3 separate regions of the Homo sapiens genome follow, and all the other regions are linked to region 1. Evidence: promoter capture Hi-C in human tissues and cell types (Jung and others, 2019). All regions are on one chromosome and are shown on one strand. Each heading gives the region's core, a stretch centred on a gene start or on the middle of the fragment in contact. The rest is flanking DNA. Distances are from core to core; before and after follow the strand shown. Region 1 holds the start of TMEM30B (transmembrane protein 30B). Region 2 overlaps PPM1A (protein phosphatase, Mg2+/Mn2+ dependent 1A). Region 3 overlaps DHRS7 (dehydrogenase/reductase 7).

Evidence for each region. Contacts are between HindIII fragments. The study calls those that stand out against the background at their distance.
Region 2: a fragment that was not itself captured here is called in contact with the fragment with the promoter of TMEM30B in region 1 in 1 of the 25 tissues and cell types used here (thymus).
Region 3: a fragment that was not itself captured here is called in contact with the fragment with the promoter of TMEM30B in region 1 in 2 of the 25 tissues and cell types used here (aorta and bladder).

Annotation. Positions count from the first base shown.
Region 1 is chr14:61,280,028-61,282,727 of GRCh38, forward strand. It overlaps TMEM30B (transmembrane protein 30B), which reads right to left and starts at 1,311. Exons shown (of 1, transcript NM_001017970.3): 1 at 1-1,311. The coding sequence starts at 1,120. The coding sequence ends at 65. It also overlaps a transcript of PRKCH not described here. RefSeq lists an enhancer at 1-736. The HindIII fragment of the contact is 14,970 bases long and covers 1-2,700 here.
Region 2 is chr14:60,257,107-60,259,806 of GRCh38, forward strand. All of the region lies in intron 1 of PPM1A (protein phosphatase, Mg2+/Mn2+ dependent 1A), which reads left to right. Among named protein-coding and RNA genes, the nearest start is that of PPM1A, 9.2 kb to the left of the region's middle. The HindIII fragment of the contact is 8,153 bases long and covers 1-2,700 here.
Region 3 is chr14:60,162,571-60,165,270 of GRCh38, forward strand. It overlaps DHRS7 (dehydrogenase/reductase 7), which reads right to left. Exons shown (of 7, transcript NM_016029.4): 1 at 2,607-2,700. Among named protein-coding and RNA genes, the nearest start is that of DHRS7, 1.5 kb to the right of the region's middle. RefSeq lists enhancers at 2,292-2,351, 2,542-2,591. The HindIII fragment of the contact is 4,419 bases long and covers 1-2,700 here.

The DNA.
Region 1 (2,700 bases), core at 61-2,560:
AGATGCCAAAAGCACCTTGCAAGAGTTTTGGCAAGAAGCAGGAGGGATCCCTGGAAAGCCGGAATCACTCCTCGTCGTCGTCGTCCTGGTCCTGGTAGCGAATGTAGACGACCAGCATGACAAAGCCGGTGAGGATGCAGAGGGAGCCGACGACCAGGTAGGCGATGCCCAGGAAGGGGTTCTTGCCACCCATCCACGAGATGCTGCTGAAGATGAGGAGCTTGTGGCCGCCGAACGCGCGCACCGGGTAGTTGTAGGTGATGTTGACGCGGTAGGCGCCCCGCGGCAGCCCGGCCGAGTAGTTGCCCTGGCGGATGCGCGCGTACAGTTTGCGGAACGTGGGCAGCGCCGCCGTGCGCATCCACACCACGAAGTCCTGATTGATGAAGCCGGTGTTGTTGGGGTCGGGGCTGAGCTCGTAGACTGGCCGGCGCCAGTTGGGCGGGGGCGCCGTGCCCTGGAAGGCCAACGCCAGGCTGCCGTTGACCAGCGGCGGGTTGCGGAACTTGACGTGGTAGTCGGTCCACCAGGCGATGCCGGAGCGGTCGAGCGGCACCTCGACGTAGGGCCCGCCGGGCTGGCGCTGGTGCCAAAGCGAGAAGGAGTCGTTGAAGAGGCTGTTGGCGATGGCGCCGCAGGGCGCGATGGGCAGGCCGGCCGCGCTGCGCTGGTAGGGGGCGCACTCGTTGACAGGGTGGCGCAGCGCGCTGGGGAGTCCGCTCAGCTGCGCGTCGTCGCGGGACACGCCGTAGCGCCGGTTGTTCTGGTAGAAGTTGGTCAGCTCGTAGTAGAGGTACACTGGGCCCTGGAAGAGCTCGGGCAGCGAGAAGTACCAGGCGCACGAGCAGGGGGGCGGCAGCGCCCGGCCCTGGCCAGCCGCGGCGCACACCGAGCAGTTACCGGTGCCCGGGTCGCCTGTATAGTCGTACTCCAGCTCCTTGATGCCGTTGGAGGAGTAGTAGAGGCCCAGGCCCAGGCCGATGAAGGCCAGGCCCGCGCAGAAGAAGAGCGGCAGCGCGATGCTGGCCGACAGCAGCGGCTGCCAGGCGGGGAGGCGCTGCTGAGTGAAGGCGGTGTTGTCGGGCTGGTGGGCGCCCCGGGCCGTGGCGCTCCAGGTCATGGCGGCCGCGCGGGGACCGACGCGCGGGCTGACCGAGTGGGGGCCCCGCCGCGGGGCGCCTCCCTCTCCGCGCCGCGCAAGCCCGGGGACTGCTCGCGGGTCGGGTTTCCCGCCAGCTCAGGTGGGTTTTTGCCCGGGCCCCTCCTCTGCCTCCGTCACAGGTGAGTTTAGTTCCAGGCCCTACGAGCAGTGCCCACACCCTCCCAGTTCCGCCTCCGCCCAGGTGCGCTGCACCCCCGCGGGTCACCGGGAGCCGCACCTCGCCCGCCCCTTCCGAGGTGAGCAGGTGGGTGTTTTTTACCTCACCTGGTAGACTCAGTCTCGCGTTTCCTCTCAGTCCAGGTCATCGGACTCCACCTCCTCTCCTAGGTGAGTGGCGGCCCCGGGCTGCCTCTGAGTGGCTCCTACCTGGCTCAGGTACCACCTTCTCTTCCGCCTTCCAAGTGACTAGAGTTCCTGGGCCAGTCTCCCGAAATCAAAAGGCGCTCCGGCCTCCAGCAGAAATTTTTGCTGAGGGCTTGCACCGTGGTCCTGGAGGCTTGAAGATTTCAGATCCTTAATCCTCTGTTATTTGCGGGGAAAAGGTGGCTCTAGACCATTTTGTCTTTTAGGTTAGCTTCACAAACCGCTTTCGCCCAGCTTTCAGTCTCAAGTTGGGAGTGTCCAGGGAATTACGTTATGATAAATCTGTTTCGAATTCAACGCCTGCGTTCAAATTTTAGCTTTTTTTTTTTTTTTTTTTTTTTTTTTTTTTAAGGGAAAATGATTTTCTGGCCAGATCACCCAGTCTGGCTGTATAACTAGGAAATGTGGAAAGTTCTCTAAAAATAAAATCATCCTTAAAAAGAATCAAAGGCTGGAGAGGTTCAGAGCCTTTAAATAACTCTTAGCTGGTGTGGAGAAACCAAGAAAGGAAAAAATGTGCTGGACTACATGTGATTTCGTTTTCTTTTCAGATTATTTGCCTGACTAGAGAAAGGCCCAATCCAAGGTCCCAGGAGACCTAGCTGCTATCCACAAAAACATCTGGAGTGTCTGGCCTAAGGAAGTAAACTACAAGGATTTATAGGATTTATTATAAAAAGAACTCAAATTAGCTCCCTATGTTGCCTGGGATTCTGGCTTTTTTTTTTTTTTTTTTAAATCTAGGTTGGTAAAACATATACAAGGGGGTATTGGGACGTTCTGATTTCTTACTAAATCTAAATCTTCCCTAGGTATTGTGTTCTTGCTTCTCCTCCAGCTTGTAAAATGCAAGTAATACAAATGTTTTCTCTATTACACTACACCTAGCATAATATATTATATTCAGGAGTCATTCAAAACCCATTGAACTTGGAAAGTTAAAATCCTTATTAAATTTAACAGAGGAATGTTGTTAGCATCTTCCAAGTGTTCAGTCCTATGCTAATTAGACAAAAAAGGACCTTTGACCTCAAGGCATTTGCAGTTTGATAGGGGACATATTAGGAGTAAGAAACAATCAAAATAGCCAATAATAGCTATGAATCATAGGGTGTAATCAAGTATCAAATTGCATTCTACAAGTCACATTAAAATTAAAAAGTAATATTGATTTA
Region 2 (2,700 bases), core at 115-2,614, 1.0 Mb before region 1:
ACAAGCCATACACACTTTTTTCTTATGGCTTAAAATTTTATTCATGTTTACTACTTTGCAACCCACTGATATAAATTATTTCACAGATCCTTTATTCAAATGAAATTCTCAGTGAGTCTGAGAAGATAGTCTTAAACACAAGCTAGCTGAGTTTACAATAGAGATTATACTATAAATGGTAACTTCAATGTTTATTGAAAATAAATTCCTTAAAAACAGGTCTTGTTTCATTCATTTAAAGAGATTATCAATATATGACTGTTAAATTTTTATAGTCTCCCTGTTCATTTTCTGATGAACACATGACAGAAAATTGAATGTGAGCTGGAAATACAGCAGACTATGAGAAAGCATGGGTCATGTATAATCACTTTAAATTTAGGCTGGTGTTTTGTATTCATCTATAATATGACCACCTCAGGGAGGGATGTAAGTAAACATTCTTTTTTTAGTTATACTTTAGGTGGCTTAATTATTTTAAAGAATATGTTATTCAAGAATTGTCTATTGTACTGTTTTAAAGAATAAGAATATAATTCATTACCAACTTTGAATGTCTTGGATTCTTAGTACTACCTTTTTCTTTATCATGACTAGTAGGATCACATCATAATTTGGTACTGTGTGTATAAAGATGAAGTGTGCTTACCTTTATTACCAAAATTCAGAAATGAAAATGTGAATGATAAAAGATAAGGGATGGCTATATATTTTTTTGTTTTTGTTTTTCCAAACAGAATCTCATAACTTACCAGGCTTTAGAAAAACATCTTTGCAGTATGCCATCATACCTCAGAATGTTAAGTAGATAGGAAATAAAATTTTCACTTTTTGTAAAGCAGTAGGGTATTATCCTTTCTGACAGCCTGTAAGACTGTTTTGGTTGCCAAGGGGCCAATCTTAGAAGTGGCAGTTTTTGTTTTGTGACCAACCCACAGCTTACCCTTTGTTAGTCCATATCTGTCATCTTCATTTTCTCTTTCTGCGTAAATGCTTCTTGATACAGTAAGCAGGTGTTTCAACTAGTCAGCCATCTAGTGTGATCTTTTCTGGTTTGCTACAGTCAGTAAAATAAGTAGCTCTATAAGTGTAAATAGTATTACTTGTTTTATGTAGTAAAACTCCAAGATTAAGTTAGAGATATTTTTGGCTAGACTACATTGAATGCATTGACAATGGATTTCCCAGCTCCCAGAAATTCGTTTGTGTCTGAATTACTTTATACTTGGCTTATTGTGTAGAGAAAACTTTAGAAAAAGTTCATCCATCCATGAATGTTGAATGAATGAGCAGATTAATAAATAAATAGCTCAGGGAAAGAAAATGTGTGGGCTTTTAGTCATAACTATGTTTTTTCTCTTTTGTTCCCTTCCTTATGTGCCATTTTTCAATAATGGGAGTGTGTATCTAATGATGTTGATAAACTTTTTAAAGTCATTGATGAACAGTAATCTGAAAATCAAGTTTTGATTAAGCCGTAGATTTCTTTTAGGGTCCAATATTTTCTTTTTAGAAATCCACTATGATATTTTTGTAGGGATAAAAGACAACCATGTATTCTATAGATGGAAAATGGTAGGATACAGTTTGTTGGCCGGCCAACTTCTCTGAAAATACTTTTTCCTGCATAGAAGATAATCAGTGTTGACAAGGGAGAAGCCAAGGTATAATGGCTGTTATTCATCTGTCTCATGTATTCGTCAAGTGTCATGTGTTAAATATGAACAAAAAAGACATAATCTCTTTCCTCCTGGATCTTAAAATCTAAAGTGAGAGATAATTCACCAGATAAATGCTGCGATAAGGGAAATAGAGGATTCTATGAGCTTATGACTAAGGATAGATCTGTTTCCTCAGATGTGGAACTAAGAAGTGGCAGTAGTTGAGAAGTTCATTTTGGGCCATGCGATTTGAGGTGTGGCTATTCAAGTATAGGAGGTAGGTGGTTACACATTTTTTAAGCTATTAAATAGAACTTTCACTTGAAAAGGTTTTTTTCTCTCTTTCCTCAGCATCTATCTCCCTACATACACAAAAAAATTGCATGTCACAATTCATGAACTCAGTGAGTGACTCTATTTTGAAAAATGTTAGATTATATCAACTGAAGTCTGTTAGAGGCAAATGCTTTTGGTCATTTTTTTCAGCAGGGACATTTCATATGTGTAAAATATTTAGAATCCCCATGTATTTATATATAAATGAATCTTTTACCATCTTAAATGTTTAATAAGTTATATTTTTCCTTTCTTTCAACTTAAGTATACAAGGTTATCAGCAAACATTTGTAGATGCTCTATGTGAGGTGTTTTGTTTATTAGTTTTAAGGAAGAGAAAAAAGGATGGATTGGATCAGGAAGTCAGTTATTGTTTTCTGGGTTAGTTTGAGTCCAAATCCTCAAATATGCGGCGATTTATAAGTAGCAAACTAGGAATTTAATCCACTTCAGTTTTGGATAACTTGGATAAGACACTTTCTGTCTATAGATCTGTCTATAGATAACTTGGATAAGACAAGTTATCCAAAACTGATAAATCTGAATTAGTTAACAGATGAGGCAAATTGAGATTGTAAATGCTAAAAGATTATTAGAAAACTTTATAAACTAAATAGTTCTATGCCATGTCTTTTTAGTATTTTGCTTGTACTATAATTGTAGTGAAAATAGGTCAGTATCTAATTTTTATAGTCACTAGAGC
Region 3 (2,700 bases), core at 201-2,700, 1.1 Mb before region 1:
AGTGTGCTATTTTTTTAAGTGACAAAAAATAATAAACCTACAGAGAAGTCAAGAAGGATTTTTTTTTCTTTTTTCATCTTGATAGAGTCTGCCCATCTCTCCAGTCTGAGCTGTTTTGGGAATCTGAGTCTATTTCAATTTTCCTTTAATCTTTTCTTCTTTCTCACTCCCTACCTCCACCAGGAGTCTTTTTAGACTTTTTTTTCCCCTAAAACTCTCCTGTGAAATGTTAATTCCACAGATATACTGTATATCATTTATGTACTGTACATATATCTGTGCTTTATACATAAAAGGAGTTCTATAAAGTTTACTCCTGCCAGGCGCAGTGGCTAATGCCTGTAATCCCAACACTTTGGGAGGCAGAGCGGGGTGGATCACCTGAGGTCAGGGGTTTGAGACTAGCCTGGCCAACATGGCGAAACCCCAGGTCTACTAAAAATACAAAACTTACCCATGCGTGGTGGCACGCACCTGTAATCCCAGCTACTAGGGAGGCTGAAGCAGGAGAATCACTTGAACCCAGGAGATAGAGGTTGCAGTGAGCCAAGATCATACCACTGCACTCCAGCCTGGCCAACAGAGCGAGACTCTGTCTCAAAAAAAAAAAGAAAAAGAAAAAAAGCTTACTCCTTAGTTAATAAGCATATGACTAAATAAGCATATGACTAAATTTTAAAATTAAGTTAAATGTTAAATTAAAATTTAAAAGTTATTAACTTCTAACTTTATAACTGTATTTGCTGAAAAACATTTTTATGGTTTTTGAGACAGTGTCTCACTATGCTGCCCAGGCTGGTCTTGAACTCCTGGGCTCAAATGACCCTCCTACCTTAGCCTCCAGAGTAGTTGGGATTGCAGGTACATGCCACCACGCCAGATTTTTGCTGAATAACTTTTATGTAACTTACTTAGATAAATAGCAATTTATCAAACTACATGTGCAAATTTGCAAATTATATAACTACATAATGATAACAATGTAATTAAATTTAAAATCCTTCAAACTGTTCTTTTCCGACAAAACACAACTGAAAATATTAAATGAATTTCTTAAAATTTTCAATGATCTTAACTTTTAACTTTTCCTTAATATGAGAAAATAACTTTTAACTTAGTAGCTTAGAGATATTCATTCAGATGTTGTCAATAATTTTGCTTTTTAGCACTTGACATAATTTGATGGGTTGAATATTTTTTGTAGGATTAAATAATAAAATATAATCTATTTTCGTTTAATTCTCCAAGTCCAAGTGAACACAAAAGCACTAAAGATCAAACACAAACAACGTCTGCAAGGCAGCCAATGGCAGCCAATAGGCACACATATTCCCCCGCTGAGGTGGAACAATCGATCAAGAGAAAGCCCTTGGTTAATGAAGTTGTGCAGTATTTGGGATTCCTGCTTTAAAAGGAGAAAGCCCAATCACTTGCCATAGTTTTGTAGCACTGCTGTGGCGTCCATGTTGTGTATTTTTCGTGAACTCAATGTCAGTGCTGCACATGCTATACCCAAGAAAACCCAACCAGAAAAATGAAATACTAAGGAATAATATTTTCTCGGGTGGGGTTAAGCTTTGGAGGGGCACAAACCACTGTATTACCAGATTTTTTTTTTTTTTTTTTTTTGTCCACAGGAACCAATTCTCACCTTGGGATCAATATCACCCCCCTCAACGCCCAACCCATAACGCCCCCCCCAAACATAGTCTATCTTTCGAGCTACTATCTCTTCCAAGCAAACTTTGTAACATGCTTTGAGTATTTTTATACCAGAAACTTGGTCCAGGGAAACCCCATTTCCCCAAGTCCTTAAGGATCCAAAGCCTAGCTTTCGGTAGGTCATTTAATTTCTCTGAACATCAGTTTCCCTATCTGGAAAATAAGATTAATAATGCCTACCTTGTAAGAGTTGTTGTAAAAGTTAAATGTTATGTGTGTAAAGCGCTGAGCCAACATACAGCAAATGTACACGATGTCAAATATTAAGCAAGACACAGATAAAGTGAGATAGGCAGTATGCCAATAATGATCTCGCTCCAGCAAACTGCCATTTTTAGTTCTTTCTAGTGTTTGACTAGAATGAGTAAGTAGGTGAAGGACTTCGGATTATCTCAGATTTTATTTCAAAACTGCAGGAGTGGGAAGTGGAGGACAGACTACTTCAGGTAGTAGAACGACCGGGCTTCCGGTACTTACAAAGGAGTTTCCCTTACAAACGCAGGGGGACGCTCACTGTTTCTCAAAGTATCGTCCTCTGAGACAACACCAGAATCCCTTGAGTCCTGCGTAAGATGTCAGAGTCCTCAGGAGCACCGCCGACTCCAGTGCTCTCTTAACAGTTTGGCACTCCCTGGAGAGGTTTCCTAGCCTGAATGGCAAGTCCATGCCATCTTCCGACCAGTACAGAAGACAAAGGGGCTTTTTAGCCCTCGCCTCTTCCTCCCCAACCCGCAGCCCCTGCGTAAGGGGCAGCCGGGCCTTCGGGAAGCTCCACGCAACCCACAAAGGACCCGGGATCACTGCAGAACCCCCGGAGACCCGGACACGCCTCGGCAGCTCCGAGCCCGGCCTCCCACTCGGGAGAGGCTTTGGCCGGTCCTCACCTGGGCGTCGTCCCTGCCACTCGGCCCATAGTAGCGTCAGGTCGCCGTCAGCCCTCAGGAAGCGCAGCAGCTGCACCAAGAGCAGGAGCAGCGC